4 separate regions of the Homo sapiens genome follow, and all the other regions are linked to region 3. Evidence: promoter capture Hi-C in human tissues and cell types (Jung and others, 2019). All regions are on one chromosome and are shown on one strand. Each heading gives the region's core, a stretch centred on a gene start or on the middle of the fragment in contact. The rest is flanking DNA. Distances are from core to core; before and after follow the strand shown. Region 1 overlaps LINC00927 (long intergenic non-protein coding RNA 927). Region 2 holds the start of LINC00927 (long intergenic non-protein coding RNA 927). Region 3 holds the start of ARNT2 (aryl hydrocarbon receptor nuclear translocator 2). Region 4 overlaps LINC00927 (long intergenic non-protein coding RNA 927).

Evidence for each region. Contacts are between HindIII fragments. The study calls those that stand out against the background at their distance.
Region 1: a contact is called between a fragment that was not itself captured here and the fragment with the promoter of ARNT2 in region 3, in 3 of the 25 tissues and cell types used here (adrenal gland, hippocampus and mesendoderm cells).
Region 2: a contact is called between a fragment that was not itself captured here and the fragment with the promoter of ARNT2 in region 3, in 2 of the 25 tissues and cell types used here (bladder and ovary).
Region 4: a fragment that was not itself captured here is called in contact with the fragment with the promoter of ARNT2 in region 3 in 2 of the 25 tissues and cell types used here (dorsolateral prefrontal cortex and liver).

What each region holds. Positions count from the first base shown.
Region 1 is chr15:80,317,405-80,321,534 of GRCh38, reverse strand. All of the region lies in intron 1 of LINC00927 (long intergenic non-protein coding RNA 927), which reads left to right. Among named protein-coding and RNA genes, the nearest start is that of LINC00927, 22 kb to the left of the region's middle. RefSeq lists an enhancer at 3,238-3,738. The HindIII fragment of the contact is 6,133 bases long and covers 1-4,130 here.
Region 2 is chr15:80,337,597-80,341,825 of GRCh38, reverse strand. It overlaps LINC00927 (long intergenic non-protein coding RNA 927), which reads left to right and starts at 21. Exons shown (of 3, transcript NR_033833.1): 1 at 21-270. The HindIII fragment of the contact is 5,859 bases long and covers 1-4,229 here.
Region 3 is chr15:80,403,083-80,407,056 of GRCh38, reverse strand. It overlaps ARNT2 (aryl hydrocarbon receptor nuclear translocator 2), which reads right to left and starts at 2,675. Exons shown (of 19, transcript NM_014862.4): 1 at 2,511-2,675. The coding sequence starts at 2,541. It overlaps ARNT2-DT (ARNT2 divergent transcript), which reads left to right and starts at 2,861. Exons shown (of 6, transcript NR_184070.1): 1 at 2,861-3,066; 2 at 3,472-3,555. RefSeq lists an enhancer at 2,744-3,244. The HindIII fragment of the contact is 10,967 bases long and covers 1-3,974 here.
Region 4 is chr15:80,275,521-80,279,616 of GRCh38, reverse strand. All of the region lies in intron 2 of LINC00927 (long intergenic non-protein coding RNA 927), which reads left to right. Among named protein-coding and RNA genes, the nearest start is that of CTXND1, 25 kb to the right of the region's middle. The HindIII fragment of the contact is 5,478 bases long and covers 1-4,096 here.

The DNA of each region.
Region 1 (4,130 bases), core at 742-3,241, 85 kb after region 3:
TGACAGAGCAAGACCCTGTTTCTAAAAATAAATAAATTTTTTTTAAAAAGTGACTCAATTTAAAGTCTAGAGGTCTACAAACAAACAAAAAGCCAAACATGAACAACTACTTTAGGACAAAACTATCTTCCTCTAAAAACAGAAGCGCATACACTGACGTAATTCTCTCTCTCTGGCAGACAGGTTTCTAAGACAGCCACCGATGGGTCCTACCTCCTCGTATTCACATCCTATGTAATCTCCTCCCCAGTGTGGGCTGGACCTGGTGACTTGCTTCCAGTGAATAGAATATAGCAAAAGTGATTGATGTCACCTCCAAGATTCAGCTATAGAAGACTATGACTATGACTTTCCTCTTGGCTAGCATTCTCGCTAACCCTTCCTGCTTGCTTGTACTGAGCTGCCCTATGAAGAGGCCCATGTAGGGTGGCCTGGGTGGGGGTGATCTGTGGCCAACAGCCAGCAAGGAACTAAATCCTGTTTACAACCACATGAGCTTGGAAGGAGATCCTTCCCCAGTAAAGCCAGGAGATGAATACAGCCCCAGCCTCCAGCTTCATTGCAGCATCGTGAGACACCCACAAGCAGGACTCAGCTAAGCCACAGCCAGAATTCTGTCCCACAGAACTTCAAGACAACTAGTGCTGTTGCTTTTCAGCTGCAGAGTTTTGACATAATTTGTTGTATAGCAATAGCCAGCTAGTTATCAATAACCACTATTGCTCCTATTGTTTCTCACCACATATCCATATAGTCATGAGGAAACCTCTTTAAATGAGACAAAGAATCAGAACTAATAAAAGATAAGCAAATTCCTTTAAATATACATTTTAATTTTACATGGTAAAATATTTCAAACTGAAAGCAACTGATTTCTATTTGCAATTTCACAGAGAAGCTGGATATCATAAATTCAGCAGATGAATGGTAGACTAGAGAAAATTCAATGCATATGGTAGATAGTAAATTAATATCTATAATGTACAAATTAATTTTTAAAAGGCTAAGAATACCCATTACAGAAAAGCATAGCCAAATGGCTAATCAGCCTACGAAGAGATATTCAAAACCCTTTGAAGTCAGAGAATTGCAAGACAAATAGTGTATTATCATTTTCAGCCCACCAGACTGAGAAAATTAAAATGAATTGTAAACCATCTTTCTGGTAAGCATTCAGGGAAGCCAGGGAATTGTTTTAAATCATTAGAAAACAATCTGACTATATGTTTTAAAACTAAAAACATACTCTTTGATCCTATAATCTCACTTCTCGGATTCTAACCTTAGAAAAAAATGCACCAAAACATAAAATTTTATGGACAAGAATGTTTATTACAGTGTATTTGTAGTGGCTCCAAACCAGAAACAACTTGCATGTGTGTCAGTAAAGGGGATGTTGAATAAGGTGCATCAATATACTATGCAGGATACAATACCTGTGTAGCAGCAAATGAGTTTGTGCATCAGTTTCCATGTTGACTGAGGACAGCAATGTTCAGGGTAGTATGCATGAGGCTATCTCATTTGTTTTTCAAAAGCAATGATCCCTCAAATCTGATTTTACTCACACACGTGGTATACGTAAATAGATCAGATAGATGCATAGATACATAGACATAGGGACATAGACACAGACACAGACACAGACATAGACATAGACACCATAGACATAGAGAGCAGAATGGAAAAATACCCATTAGGTTCTTAACATATATTGGGCATGGGGTGTAAAGAGAGAAGTGGGGAGAGTGAGTGAAGAGATAGAAGAGAGGAGGGGGAGAAACAAGCAAAAAAAAAATGAGAACCTAAATGAGCATTTAAAATGAAGTCTACAGTAAATGCAGCACAATCCCACTTGTGTAAATGTTATGTGTGTGTGTACACAGATATGTGTGTGCATGAGGACATACACAAAATCATGATGGTTGGAAGGGTTAATGGTGACCCTGCCAGGAGGTCTGATTTCACGGGCTTGCCCCATCCCCCTTTTTTCTTTATACTGTTATGTATTGTTTTATTTTTCCCCCAACAAACATGTATTATTTATATAACGGGGGAGAGAAAAAAGTCAATTTCCACTATGGAAATAAAAGAGCCCATTTATCACTTTTATGTGCTTTATGTATTGGAGTCTCAAGTGAAGAAGATTTCATTAAAAAAAAAAAAAGAGTTACACCACAAAAAATGTTTGCCAAACTCTGCTCTAGACAATACCAACTTTCTCCCTCACCCTCAAGCCTATGGAATTGCAGAATAGATTAGTATCTCTGTTTGCAGGAGAAAAATGAAATTTGCAAAAATGAATAATAAGCAAATGCTTGTTGAATTAAAACACATTGCAAATGACAATTTACAAGACAGGCTGAAACTGGCAGCCAGAGGCTGCATCCAGCTCACAGATGAGTCTGTTAGGCCCACACCGTGCTACAAAAAATGAATTCATTAATAACATACAAAGTTAGTAGAGTCCACTCTTTTTACTTTTTATTTGTATTATATTATATTTTATTTTATTTTGAGACAGAATCTCTCTCTGTCGCCAGGCTGGGGTGCAGTGGTGCCATCTTGGCTCACTGCAACCTCCGCCTCCTGGGTTCAAGTGATTCTCCTGCCTCAGCCCCTTGAGTAGCTGGGATTACAGACACATGCCACCACACCCAGCTAATTTTTGTATTTTTAGTAGAGACGGGGTTTCATCATGTTGGCCAGGATGGTCTCAATTGAGTCCACTTTTTAAAAAATATCTGGAAATAAGCTTTCTTTTGTAAAACCCAATTTTCTGGAGACATTGGGCACACATTTGCACATGACAAAAATGAGCCCAAGCTTCTTTGTGACTGTCCCCTTTGACCAGAACTCACGCTTTCCAATCCCCATGCTTCCTACAAGGGCTCTTTGTCAAATCACCTGCCTGGCAACTGCCATCACTCTAGGTGGCTACCCTGACTTACTGATATAGGGACAGGGAGGGTCAGGAAATGATCCAAGGACTCACTCTGATTGCCCAGAACTAGGACCAGGGTCCACTGGGAGCTGTATGCAGAACAGGCGGCTTCAGCTTCCATGGGATCTAAGATTCCCAGGTTCTAGGAGCCACATTTCCAGACAACTGCTGCTGTAGACTAAATGTTTATGCTCCTCTGAAATTCATATGTTAAATCCTAGTCCTCAAGGCAATGGCATTTAAAGGAGGGGACATTGGAAGGCAGAGCTCTCATGAATGGGATTCATGCCCTTATTAAAGAAGCCTCAGAAAACTGCCATGCCCCTTCTACCACCTGAGGGCACAGCGAGAAGACAGCCAAACCTGGGAGGGGGCCCTCACCAGGCGTAGAATCTGCTGGTACTTTGATCTAGGACTTCCCAGCCTAGAGAACTGTGAAAAATAAATTTCTATTGTTTATAAGCCACCCAGTCTATGGTATTTTGTTGCAGCAGCCCAAATGAACTGAAACAACTCCTCTGACAGCTACACCCAATCCACAGTGCTGGTCAAAGCAGTGTGTGAGTCCTTTGCTCCAAGGCTGCTCGCCCATGTCCTACACAAGAGGCCAGCAGGAGCCTGAGGAACACACCCCCCACCTCACTGTGTGTGTGTGCCTGGCAAAGCACCCTGCCCAGAACCCTCTCCGCCAGGGCCTTGGGAGGAGAGGGGACGTCCAGCCTCTTCTCTTACTGATCTTACCTTTGTAAGTTCCTCCTTTCCAAAATAAAGCCTATTCCTAAACTTGTGCTGGGTGATGTGGAATTCATTTGAGGAGACCCTGTTGCCAGACAGCGGCAGCATTGGTCTCGCAATCCCTCCTCCTTGGGGAATTCTTGTCCTCTCACCCAGGGGAGGTTCAGACAGTAGCTCTGTTCATGGCCCTTGGCTTATTGCATCACCCTTGTTCTGAATGACTCTTCTTCCACCCACGTCATCTGCTCCTGCTTCCCAAGCTGGCCTAATGGGCTGGCAGCATCAGAACTGATCATTTGGTGACAGAGCATTCTCAGCCTTTTGCTCAGCACATGAGCTAAGTATGATCTGATCCAAGAACAGAAACTGCCTCGGCCGTGTAGGTTTCCCCAGCTGAATTTCTCTTGCTCTTAGCTGTTCATGACTCAGTGTGATGGGGTCTTGGTTGTCT
Region 2 (4,229 bases), core at 457-2,956, 64 kb after region 3:
AATGATGTCACACAGGGCTCTGGAAGCTTGGCGCTCACTCAGCTCCCAGAAGTTCTCAGAGGGTGAGGGTCCCACATCTCCTGCAGGACAGGCCCTAGCTACTGAGTCACAGAAACCCAGGGCCGAAGCAAAGTCCCAATCCCAGAGAGGCTGGGGCACACCTACAACTGAAAGGAGGCTTAGAAATCCTTCAGAGACCACCCTATCGGTTCTCCTCCACCTGGACAGGATGAGCCAGCAACACAGAAGGAAGAGGCCTTCCTCCGAAAGGTAGGGGATGAAGCTGCCTCTCAGGGATCAGAGCTGGGCCGCAGGGCTCTGATGTCCCCTGGACACCTCGTCAGAAAAGGAACATGTAGGATTTGGAGTGCAGGATGAGGCTGGCTGAGGTTTCCCTGAGGAAGTTCTCACTGTTGTCTAGTGGACAATTAACAAAAGTTTGTAATGGGAAGGAATAACTGAAGGAATAAATGAATGGGAGAACCAAAAAATTCTCCTGTGAGTCTGAAGGGCTTTTCTGAATAGGGGCAGATGACTGTCTCAGGTGTTTAAGCCTGGGTCCTTATGTCCATGGAAAGGACGAAGTGGGCAAGTGGGACAGAGAGCATAGCCAGAACGGGTGGGTAGGGAGACCTGTCCTTCAGTTCCTCATTACTTATGAGAAAGAATTCACATATCACTTGAGGAATTAAGGAAATAACAGCAGTAGGTATGGAAGTGGGAGCTGGAGGGAGCTCACACTGACCCCGGGCCCCCGACACTGACAGAGTGAGTTCTGCAGCTGCCCCCAGCCTGGATGGGGAGGAGGGCTGGGCAGACCCCAGTCCCCCATGCTGCAGAATCTTCCCTTCTCCTCCTCTGTTTCCTGCCCACCTCTTCCTGGGGCTTCACAACCCCTCACAGCCAAGTCTCACTTCAGAATCGGATTTTAAATTCCTGCTCTAATTAACGGAGCTTCTGCTATTATCATAGTTTTGCACCCTTTCCCCGCCCAGTGTCTGCACCCTACACCTTCTCTGGCCAGCACCTGGGCTGCCCTCCCCTGGCACCACCCTGTGTCTTGTTGTTTATTTGGTCCTCTCACCCCTCCCAAGAGTTCCTCTTCAACTGTGTCTCTGCTTGCAAGATTTACCCAGTCCCATCCACAAACTGCTCTCATCTGTTTTGATCCTGAACCTCCAATCTACTCTCATATCCAGAAACTAGCACAGACCCTTAGGCTGACATATCCAGCCCCCAGGTCCACTCGGTGGAGGTTTTTATACCTGGGCCATTGGCGCTTGCGGCATCAAAAGGCTCTCAGATACGGATGTCTGTTTTCTGCCTTTTCCCTGATGGGGTCCATCTAACAAGAACATGTGAGGGAGTTTCTGTTCAGAGCAAGGCCATTTTAACTTTTAACTGTTACTTAGAAAAAGCACAAGAAAGATGGACACATGGCAGAGTCTTAAAGTCAAAGAAGTATTCTGTAAGCATAATTCTTCCTATGAATGCCTTCTCTATAAAGAGGTTGAAGCAAGGTGAGCAATTCTCCTGTTTGAATGCTAACACTAAATGTGCTAAGAAAATCACTTTCATAGACACATCTCAGAGAACTACATATTATGTATGTTAAGGAGAAATTAGATTGTTTCCAAGTCCCAGAGAAGCAAATTAATTTGGCATTAAACAAATGTTGCAATACAGGAAAGAAATTATCTTTAAGATCCTCCATTACAAACCAGAAAAGTCCCAGTATGTATGATAATGTTTTCAGTGTAGCTCGTTATAAGGCACTGCTACCACTTGTACCACTGTGTGCAGGAACTCTGTCTCCCATAGTGGTTCCCCCAAATGTTTGCAGGCCAATGATAGACATCTGGAAAGATGAAAGATGTCATGGGATTTCAAAACAAGAGGGAGAACAATAGGGATGGAGAAGTCCCCAGGATCCCTGAGACCAGATAGGGATCCCTGGGCTCACAGACAAGGACGCAGGGCCAGCGAGTTCATGTGCACTACCTCCATTCTCAGAGGCCTCCACCCCAGGGCACAGGGCCACGCAGCCTTCAACATCTGAATGCAAAAGCCCAGGCTTGCATTTTCCAGATGATAAGGAAGGAAATTTTATGATTCTTAGAGGCACCAAAGTTGAAGAGGTCTGGCCTCTCCAGGGTGAGCACAAGCTGGGGTTTTTCCAACTGTCCAAAGTGATTTGGCCAAAATCTTTTTCCTTAAAATCTGCATCTTTCCAGTTAATGTCCTCCAAATGCAGTCCTGGAAAGTAGCCTTGGATGTACCAGGTTGGGTTTTCCTTTACACCAGTCAGGAGAGGAAGGTGGGAGTGGCACATCAGAGAATCTTCTAGAATCTTCTAGTGGTTACATAGTGAGTTGCACATCATGTCCAGCCTTCTTCCTTCCAAGTAGACAGGTACACTCCAGAGTTGTTTGGAAAATAATGCATTAACCTTTACATATTTCTTTTGGTCATTCATAGGTATAGAGGCCAGAAGAGGTCATTGTCTCCAAATAGCAAGCAAGACCTCTCCGAGGCTAACTTTGTGCAGTCTGTAGGTGTATTCATGCCGTGGCTCAAATCTTTAAATCCAACTTTAAAGATATTTTTATCCTTATTCAAAAAACATATCCAAAATTAAAAATATATATGTGCTTTTTTTTTAACTTAGAAAACTCTTATATCCCTACTTAAACATGTGCAAAGTACAAAACTTTAAAAAGACAAAGTTATAATCAGAACTGCCCCTCAAATGTAAATTGCACCTCTCCTTGAAGGTACCAGTGTGAAAAAGCACTTGTATATCCTTCTATATATTTCTCTTTGCTCAGACACACACATATATATAGTCACAGGCACACACGTACAGCTGTTTGCTGTGCTCTTTTGGAAACTGGGTCACGCTCTACCCACATTGCTCTGCACATTTTTTCAATTGACTACCATGCTTTCCTGTTAAGTCAGTAGATATAGTGCTAACACTGTGTTTTTTGTTCTAATCTAAGTCATTTAACATAAATTAATTTCATCTATAACAAAAATATAGTATACCTTATATACACTTACATAAACTACAGAATGAAAATGCATATCTAACTCTCCACTTTATGTCCCTGTCCCACAAGTGAATCACAATAATTCATACCAATAATCTGGTAAGCAGTCTATCTTATTATCCTTGCTTGCACAATCATACACACACACAAACATGTGCATCTACTCTTTTATGCACATATAAATACATATAGGTATTCAAATATATTCAAGTATTTGTTAATTTTACTCAAATGGGCACATTTTATATATACTAGTCTGCATCTTGATTTTTTCCTTAACTATTAATTCAAGGAGATTTTTGTTGCTCAATTGCTGTAGCTCTATTTCATTCTAATGACTACCAAATACTATTGAATGATGTGGCTGTGCTATGAATTATTTTCTTTCTTCTTTTTTTTTTTTTTTTGAGACAGAGTCTCGCTGTGTCACCCAGGCTGGAGTGCAGTGGCACATCTCCACTCACTGCAAGCTCCGCCTCCCAGGTTCATGGCATTCTCCTGCCTCAGCCTCCCGATTAGCTGGGACTACAGGCACCCACCACCACGCCTGGCTAATTATTTTTTTAATTTAATATTGTAATTTATTTCATAAATTATGCTGACTCAACTGATTATTATTCTGGAAAAAATACCACTGTACCACATATATTTACAGAATTAAAGAAAAAATGAATTAACAATTTTAATAGAAAATTAGAAGGGAAATGTAGGAATATTTTCTTAACCTGGATAGGAAACCCAGAAACTATAAGAGAAAAGACAGATGTAATTGACCATAAAACATTTAAGCAACTGAAGTGGAGAAAAAAAGCTTGGAAAACAATGTAGTACATGAACAATAGAATTGGAAGATTATTTTATATGTAGATGACAACAACATAACTTTGTATTTCATACGAAAGGGGCAAAATTGGGCAGTCGAAAAATAAACAAATGAAGCTAATCATTGGGAGCAAATCCAAATGCCCAGTAAACATAATCAGCATTGTTCAAAAAACTGGTAGTAAAGAAACTATCCATCAAAGTGCCAGTGAAACTAGCAAAATTAAAAATCAGTGACCCCTGGTGCTAGCTGGGCTGTAGAGGAGACGGATCCTGTCAGACATAGTTGGAAATGGGCATTATTATAGAGCTTTAAGGGAAGCAACTTGGCAATGGCTATACAATTTTCAAGGA
Region 3 (3,974 bases), core at 1,426-3,925:
CACAAGCCCATGTGAGGTAGGCTCTGGGTGACAAGCTTGGGTACCATGGCTCTTTTTGTTGTAAATTGCCCATAGAATCTGAACTCTCTCTCTTTGGCTCAAACCCTGAGCCATGTCCCTTAAAATTAAACCCTTTCTCCCAAAGAAAAAGATGGAGATTCACATGGGGCAATAATAACACATCCCCACGGATCATCCTCAGGGGACCAGTAAAAGAAATGATGGTAAAAGGAAAGGTGATCACCTCAAGGAATTTTCCCTTGAGAAATTATCACCATGCTGAAGATCTCTGGTATAGCTGTCAACAGAGAAAAGCATCTGTCAAGCTGGCCAGGTGTTGACTAGCAACGCCAACAATACCCTATGCTTGTACCATTCAAGTCTCCCGCAGTCCAAGGCACAGGCACAGGCTTTCCTGTGCTTCACACCACGGGGCCAGGGGCAGTTACTCCATCTTTAGATCTTTAGTCCATGTAGCTCATGGAGCAATGTAATGGACAAAAAAGTTTTAAACAATGATGTCCTGGCATAGAAATTATGTAAATCACCAGGGATTTTATTCCTGTTCCCAGTGTATATTGGACTAAAATGTTTTCATTTAACATCTTTTGCTTTTTCTAATTTCATAACATTTACATCTATCAATTTTCCATTGATTTTGAAGTAGTTGAATGGGTTGAAATTGCAGCTTCAGTCACAGGCAAACTGGCACAGATTTGTTTTCAGACCAGCCACGTTCCTCCTCAGTGTTCTGGACAGAGGCCTCCTTGTCTGTTCTTCCAAGAGTCCCTATTTCTGCTGATGGAACTGCCTTCCTTGGAATTACACAGGCTCTTCACCTTGGTGTCTCCATGGACACCTCCCCTTTGTCTCTCCTTGGCCTCCTCCTTTACTCTTACTCCAAATCTAATCAGTGCCAAATCTGGAACTCTTCTACCCGCCCAGTGGTGCATTCCTTCCTCTCTGGTCCAGCCATGGCCACCAATTCTGGCCTCCCCAGCACCTGCCTCATTTCATGCTGGCCTCCCTGTCTCAAGTCTTGTTCCCTCCTTAGAATGTTTCCTAGACATAGCTGACAAATCAGTCTTCCAGAAAAAGTGATCATGCGATTTCCTTGTTCAATACCATTGAGGTCTCTCTCTCTCTCTCTCTGTCTCTCTCTCTCTTTTCTATTTTATTTTATTTTTCTGGTTCTTAGGAAGTGTGCAGAGGACTCTCCCTTAATGTGGAGAGAGAAAGTCCATACTCCTCAGTCTGTCCTTTAAAGCCTGGTCACATCCAAACAACTCAGTGTTAAATCCCACTGCTGCCTCTTATATCCCCAGTGCACCAACTACTCACTGACCTCTGCACTTGCTTAGAGCAAGTCCACTGTTACTTACGCCTGCAATGCCCCTCTGCTACTGGCTCTGTATATTCAAACATTCCCGTTTTCAAGGTTCAGCCGAAATGTCCAATCTCCAGAAGCCTTCCCTGGCCGCCTTAGATGAAAGGGATCTTTCATTCCTAATTCTATGATGAGAGACACTTTTCTTTGCTAGGCATTGCTGTTCCTCCCCCGACCCTCCCTATCTCCAACACATGACCTCCCTCTGCTGGGAATTTCCTGGGGGCCGCCCTCTGTGACTCTCCCTGCATCTTCCACAGGGACCCAGCAACCTGCCGTGCCCACAGCAGCCTCTGCACAACACCCAAAAGTTTGTACTAGCTTAGATGTTCACGTTTCTCTTCTCCCACACCCTGCTCATCAGGTAGGGAACTTTCCCAGTGAAAACGGAACTTCCCTACTACAATACCAAAACAAGTCAATGTTGCCACTTGATCAAGAACTCTTCCATTTTTGAAATATTTCCTAATGAGCTCAGTTGTCACAGACTGCACCCTGGGGACAGGTCAGACCAGAAAGCAGAGGATGTCACCTGGGCAGGACCAGGGCTGCTCCACGCTGGTGACCACAGGCTGGGTGTTTTGTGCCCCCGGAGGGTTAGGACACACAGCAGCCAGTCGCAAAGGGCGCAAAGGACCAGCGCTTAGTGGGCGGGGCGGGCAGGGGAGAGTCCCGGGAGTTGTACCCTGTTGAATCCCAGCTCCAAACTTTTCCCTCCGTCAGCGCGGAGCCCTCCACCAGCCAGGACTGGCTGACGCCGTGATGCCACAAAAGCCGGGACCGGAAGAGAAAAATGCGTGGGATGGGGAAGGCAAAGGCGGTTATTTTCAGAACTTCGGGGGCTCCCGGGCCTGCCCTTCGGGTTCCCGAGGATGCGAGGCCAGCGTCCGGCCGCCCGCGGGTCCGGACCGGCGCCTGCCCGGGACCGGATGGGCAGCGATTGGGATGCAGATGCCGCTCTGGTGCTGATGCTGCGGCTGCCGCGTAGTGACAGCCGCTCCACCACCCACCGCGCCGAGCTGCGGCTCCGCGCCCCCGGGGGCGCCCGGCGCGCCTGGTCCGCTCCGGCCCCGGGCAAGGCCTGCGGGCTGCGGCGGGCGGCGGGGCCCAGGCCGCTACTCACCCGGAGGGTTGACCGCCGCCGGGGTTGCCATCTTGCTCGGAGAGGATAGGCGCCCGCTTGGCAGGGGCGCGGGAGGGGCGGCGCGGAGCCCGGCGCTCAGCCCCGGGGACCCGGTCAGGCCCAGGCGCCGCCGCCGCCACACAAAGGACGGCGCGGGCGGGCGGCGCTCCCTCCGCTCTCCCCGCCGCCGCGGCCGCTCGCCGTCCCCGCCTTTCTCTCCTCCTCCTCCCCCTCCTCGGCCTCCTCCTCCCGGTTCAGCCTTTGTCGCGCGGCGGGGGGCGCCCGGCCCGCGGCTCCCCGGTCAGAGCGGTAGCACCGCGAGACTTGGGGCTGCGGACGGCGGGACCCCCAAGTTGGGCGCCGGCGACTGGCGGGGGCAGAGGGCCGGGCGCTCCCTCGGGCTCGCGCAGGTGCTCGGGCCTGGCCGGGCTGGGACCGCAGGCGCCTCTCCCGCGCTCGCCTAGCCCGGGCTGCCCCCGCACGCCCACGCCCCAGGTGTCCGGGCGCGCTTTACCCAGGGGCGCCGTGCCCAGGCCAGGAGGCCAGGGCGGAGCGGGTGAGGGAGAAGCCCATTTAGATTCAGAGGGAAGCCGGTCCTGGGAGACGGCCGCGAGGAACAAAGGCGCCCCAGTGCTGCCCACTTAGCATGCCAGAGCCGCGCTGCTCGGCTCCCAGGCCGGGGACACGGCCCGGTGTTAAGCGGAGGGTGCCCGACCGCGGGAATTCCTAAGGCCACGCGCACCTCCAAGGCCACCGCCGCACACAGCTTCGGAGTGCACAGTGCACACGCCCAGGCACAGGCAGCCGGCCCGAGAAATTGTGAATGTCTTGGCTTTGAGTAAGGCGCTCATCTCTACCCTCCTTCCATAATGACTGCCGTTGATTATTACTTGAGGGCGCTGCAAGGGCCTTATTTACACCACCAAGTTGAGAATTTAAAAAGATTTTTTTTTTTAAATAGGTTTATCTGCGTATCCTGGCGAAGTTTGGATGCAGAGAACTTGGAGCTGTTGTTTTCTACCAGACACTAGGATCCCTGAGAGAGGTAATGGCCCCTAGGAAGGACACGTCACCATCGGGGTCCCCTGTAAAGGTTAAATGGAAGAATAAAGACATCCCAGGTGAACGCTGAGAAGGGCAAGTTGGTCCCTAAACGCAGATAATGTTTGCAGAGACATCAAACTGTCTTAAATCCTTCCAAGGAAGCATTTTCTGGAGGGCAGAAAATTTGGGATGTATGTTCAAATAAGCATTTTCTTCGGGGAGTATTTGTCACTACTAATCTAATAGTCTATCAGTTCTACAAATGTTGAATGTCTGCTGTGTGCCAGGCACAAAGCCAGGTGTTGGGCCTACCATGGAAAGGAAGAAACAGGAGCTCTGTTCTTCTGGTTTGGGGGGTAGAGTGGGGAAGAGTGAAACAAAGTATCTGCACTCAAGAAGCACACAGCTCCCTTGGGGGCT
Region 4 (4,096 bases), core at 692-3,191, 130 kb after region 3:
ACCAAATCCATCATCAGATGACACTTGAACATGCCTCTCAAAGGATGAGATTAGGCAAGATCATCTCTCTACCAAACCCTCTTCTCTCACTTCCCAAGAAGAGAGATTGCCTGGCCCTGCTTGAATGTCATGAACAGGTGTGCTGGGGGGTCTAGTCTGGACCAGGTAGCTCCCACCAGGACAGAGCTGCCAACTGCACATGGAGACCCTGAAGCTTTTTTGGCCTTTAACCAGCTCCTGAGCTGCTGCAACTCACAGAGAAAGGAAATAGCATAATGGGCCAATGACAAGTTATATAATTTGGTTGAAACTTCAAACAACAGGACCCATATGGATAGGAAATTATTTTAAATGGACTCAAATGTCTAATTTACATAATCTATGTTTCTTGTTCATATTTGCACCCAGTGGGTGGTTATATGAATATTTGAATACTTGATGACTGATTAATAGAATATAATTTGCCAGGACCCTTCACTGTTGAGAAGGGTTTGAACGAACTGCCTTTTTTTTTCTTACCCCATATATGGAAGAAAGTAAAAAAGTTTCAGAATGAGTTTAGGATAATTATACTACATCTTAAATGTTTACATTTACCAAAACGACACACAAACGCAACACATCTTATGTATAAGCCTCATTTGGAGTCCGTGTCCAAGGTCCTCTGTGAGGTCCTTGGTGACCCTGGTCCTGACATTCATCCTCCCCTACATGTCAGGGTCTGTTATTTACATCTTACAGTTTGGCTACAAATCCTCCAGCTAAAACTCTTACCAGATCGGCCATCAGAAGACCAAGCATGACTCCCCACCCTCAACTTTGTTCCTCCCTCAACGCGTCACTTTGGGCAGCGTATTCCCTGGGCCTGGAAAAGGAAAGGATTGCCTTTCGATGAACCCCAGCAACGTAACTAAGTTCACTTTTGACTCCTGATAGGCTTTTTCATCAAGAATTTTAATTTGGCTTCTTCGTCAAGAATTTTAATTCCACACACACCACAGAGCTGGTTTTATAGAGGTCAATCTAAGCCTTCGGTCAAATTTTCTCCCCCTCATCCCCATGAACAGCCTTGCTTTGCCTCTTTCTCTCACCACATCTATAGCAAGTCCACTGTGGGTCACGGCAGCTCCCTGCAGATATTGGATTTGTGGTGCAGAGGGGGACGCCCTTTCTGAGAGTGAGACAGAAGGGACAGGGTGGGCCAGCCTCCTGCAAAGACTCCATCAGACAGGTGCAAATGCATGCCCAAGAAGGATGGCAGGGAGGCCACATGCAGCACCATCACGCTTTATCATGATGGGTCCATGGCCCTTCCTCCCAGGGGACCTAGCCTTGGGAGATTTGCGAAAAAAGAAAGTCACAAATATGCAAAGTTTCACCGTGAAATGGGCATTGGGCTTGCCAGGGCTGGCCTTGGTAGCATCCTTCCATGTCCCCTTCCCCTGGGTTGCAAGAACCACGTGCTTGCCCAAGTCTTTATATCACTGGGGAATAACTTGACTCCTTCTTCTCTTTCAATCTCTCTCAATCTCTCTCTCTCTATCTCTGAAAGCAAGTAATGGCAATGAGTCAACAGAAATACTGTAGGTGACCTGTCTGAGAGGCCCCAGGCCTCTAGTGTGGGCAAGGGACATGAAGCCTGAAGTTTTTATCTATTTGCACGTTCCCTAGAGAAACAGGAGGAAAATTATGCCAGAGATGTCTCACAGCACATATGTACTTTACAGTAGATAAAATTGTTTAAAATCTCATGAAAAATGGCTCAAAATATAAGTTTACATGGTTGAATATCTGTTGGGGTCTCTCAGATGTGCAAAGAACATCTGTCTCTTCACACTGTATGATTTAATCTTCCTTATGAGCCTCCCATGGCAGGGTGATGTCAGTGACATTGATGTCCCTTTAAGCAATCCCCATTCATCTCTTATAACAGAGCCTAGTAGGTGAATCTCAGCCTTGCAGATCTCACTCCTGTGCCCTCCTTCTGCTGGACACTGGCAGTCAGAGGTCTTGGCAGCCTGAACAGAGGGAATGCTGTGCTGGGTTAGAAGAACAAGAGTGGTAATATTGTCCCCCTTCTCCATCCATGTCAGCCCCAGTAATAGCTGATGTCTGTGTGTGGCAGACATTCTGTGCCCAGGCATCTGTGCATCCACACCACATGCCTACACTCTGATGCCGCCAGTGAGTTCTCCAGAAGCAGATGCTGAAATGGAGCTGGGCTCACACGATGCTGATAAGGGGTCACATCTGAGAAAGGAAGGTGCCACAGGCACAGACCGAGGGAAGTCATCCTGTGCTGGGGGCCCAGCGCAGCCCCTGCCAACCGAGCTGGTCACTACAGAGTGAGAAGTATCATCAGAGTTGTACAGCATCAGGCTGACATGGCTGGGTCTTTGTACCTTTGGTGAGGTGGGTCTCTGAGGCTGAGGCTGTCCCCGAGGGGCCAACAGCAGTGGCCACATTGCAGAGGTGGGCAGCAGACCCTCCCCAAAGGTATCCCAGCATCCGTGTCTGCATCTGGCACACTGGCCTATGAAATTCCTGCTATGCTGGTGCTGGGGCAAACTTCCCTCACGATGGAGAGCCTGGGATGTCGGCATGGGAGATGTTTGGGCACAGTCTCCTGTCAGACCCTCAGACAGGAAGAGAAGCAGGAACCCCTTAGATTTCAGGACCTCCTCCCTCCCCCAGATCCAGGATTTGAGCCTGGAGAAAGGAAATGATGACCAACAAGTCAGCCACATGTCCCCTTTGTCCCTTCCACGATGCCCCGACCAGAAGGGACAGCTACCCCCAAATCCCCCCTTCCTGAGGTGGTGTCACACTGACCCTTATCCCTCCTGGTGACCAATGCAGAGATAGAAAGCACCTTAGAGAGAAACAGAACTCGAGGGATCTTCCAAAAACATACTGTTTGTCACCTGTATCTTCACTGAGGGCAGAGGTGACTCCTTGGTAGCCCTAGTCCCTGAGATTGGGCTTCCTTGGTGACTGAGCTTGTCCCTCTGTCCACACAGGGCTCCAACAGTGGCTCCTGTTGGAAGCCTCAGAAACCTCTCTAGCCCATGCAGCCAAAGTGGAGGAATTGAAGGCAGCTCATGACATCCAAGGGAGAGCTGAATATCCAGCTTCAGGAAGAGGGGAGCCCGGGTGGTGTCAGAGGCCTGGGGGCTGCAGCCTGGGACTCCTTTCGATGCCACTGCCACAGACAGACCAGACCTGTGACTCTCTCTGTGCCTCAGAATCCCAAGACACAGAATCAGGTGCCCCAGCTGGGGTCAGCGGTGACCAATCAGCCTGTGGCCAGGGGCCAGGTCCCATGGGATCGACACCCTGCCAGGGTCCTTCTCAAGGGAAAATGGCTGTAAGCCAGGCCACTCCCAGATGGTGCTGATGAGAAATGAGCTAAGAAATAATAGAACTTCTCTAGGATCGTGAGGACTGGGGAGGGGTGAGTCATCTTTCAGTGCCTGGGAGGCCTTTTTAGTCTGGCACATGGCAGATGGTGCTAAGGCCAAACCAGGAAGTTATTCAGTTCCATAAACACAGATGCCACTCAAACTCCAGCCCAGCTGATTACAAATAGATATCCTTAGTCACTAAAAGATGGTCCTCATTTCCTCCCATTCCAAACCCTCCCTATGCATCCTGATCAAGTGTGTCAAGTGTGTCTTGCCAGGCCACACTCAACTGTTATCACTGTCATAATAAGATGCTTCAAGGGACTTCACAGACCCCAACACTCTATGAGTTGGTTCCAAGCTCATCCCATACCATAACAGCCACACTGTCCTAATCACTGTTTCTTTTTGTGTGTAACAGCTTTGTTGAGATATAATTCACACACCATGAAATTTGCCCTTTTAAAGTATACAGGTAAGTGGTTTTTAGTCTATTCGTAGAGTTGTTCAGCCATCACTGTTACAGGACTGTGAAGTTCATCTTTCCACTGCATCCCGTTTGCATCCAGTGGGTGGTCTGAATATCCATTGTGCAGCAACAGACCAATACACCGAGACAACAGGGCTTGCAGCAAAGAGTTGAATAATCTCCAGGCCGCTGAGTGAGGAGATGGGAGGAATCCTCAAGCCTC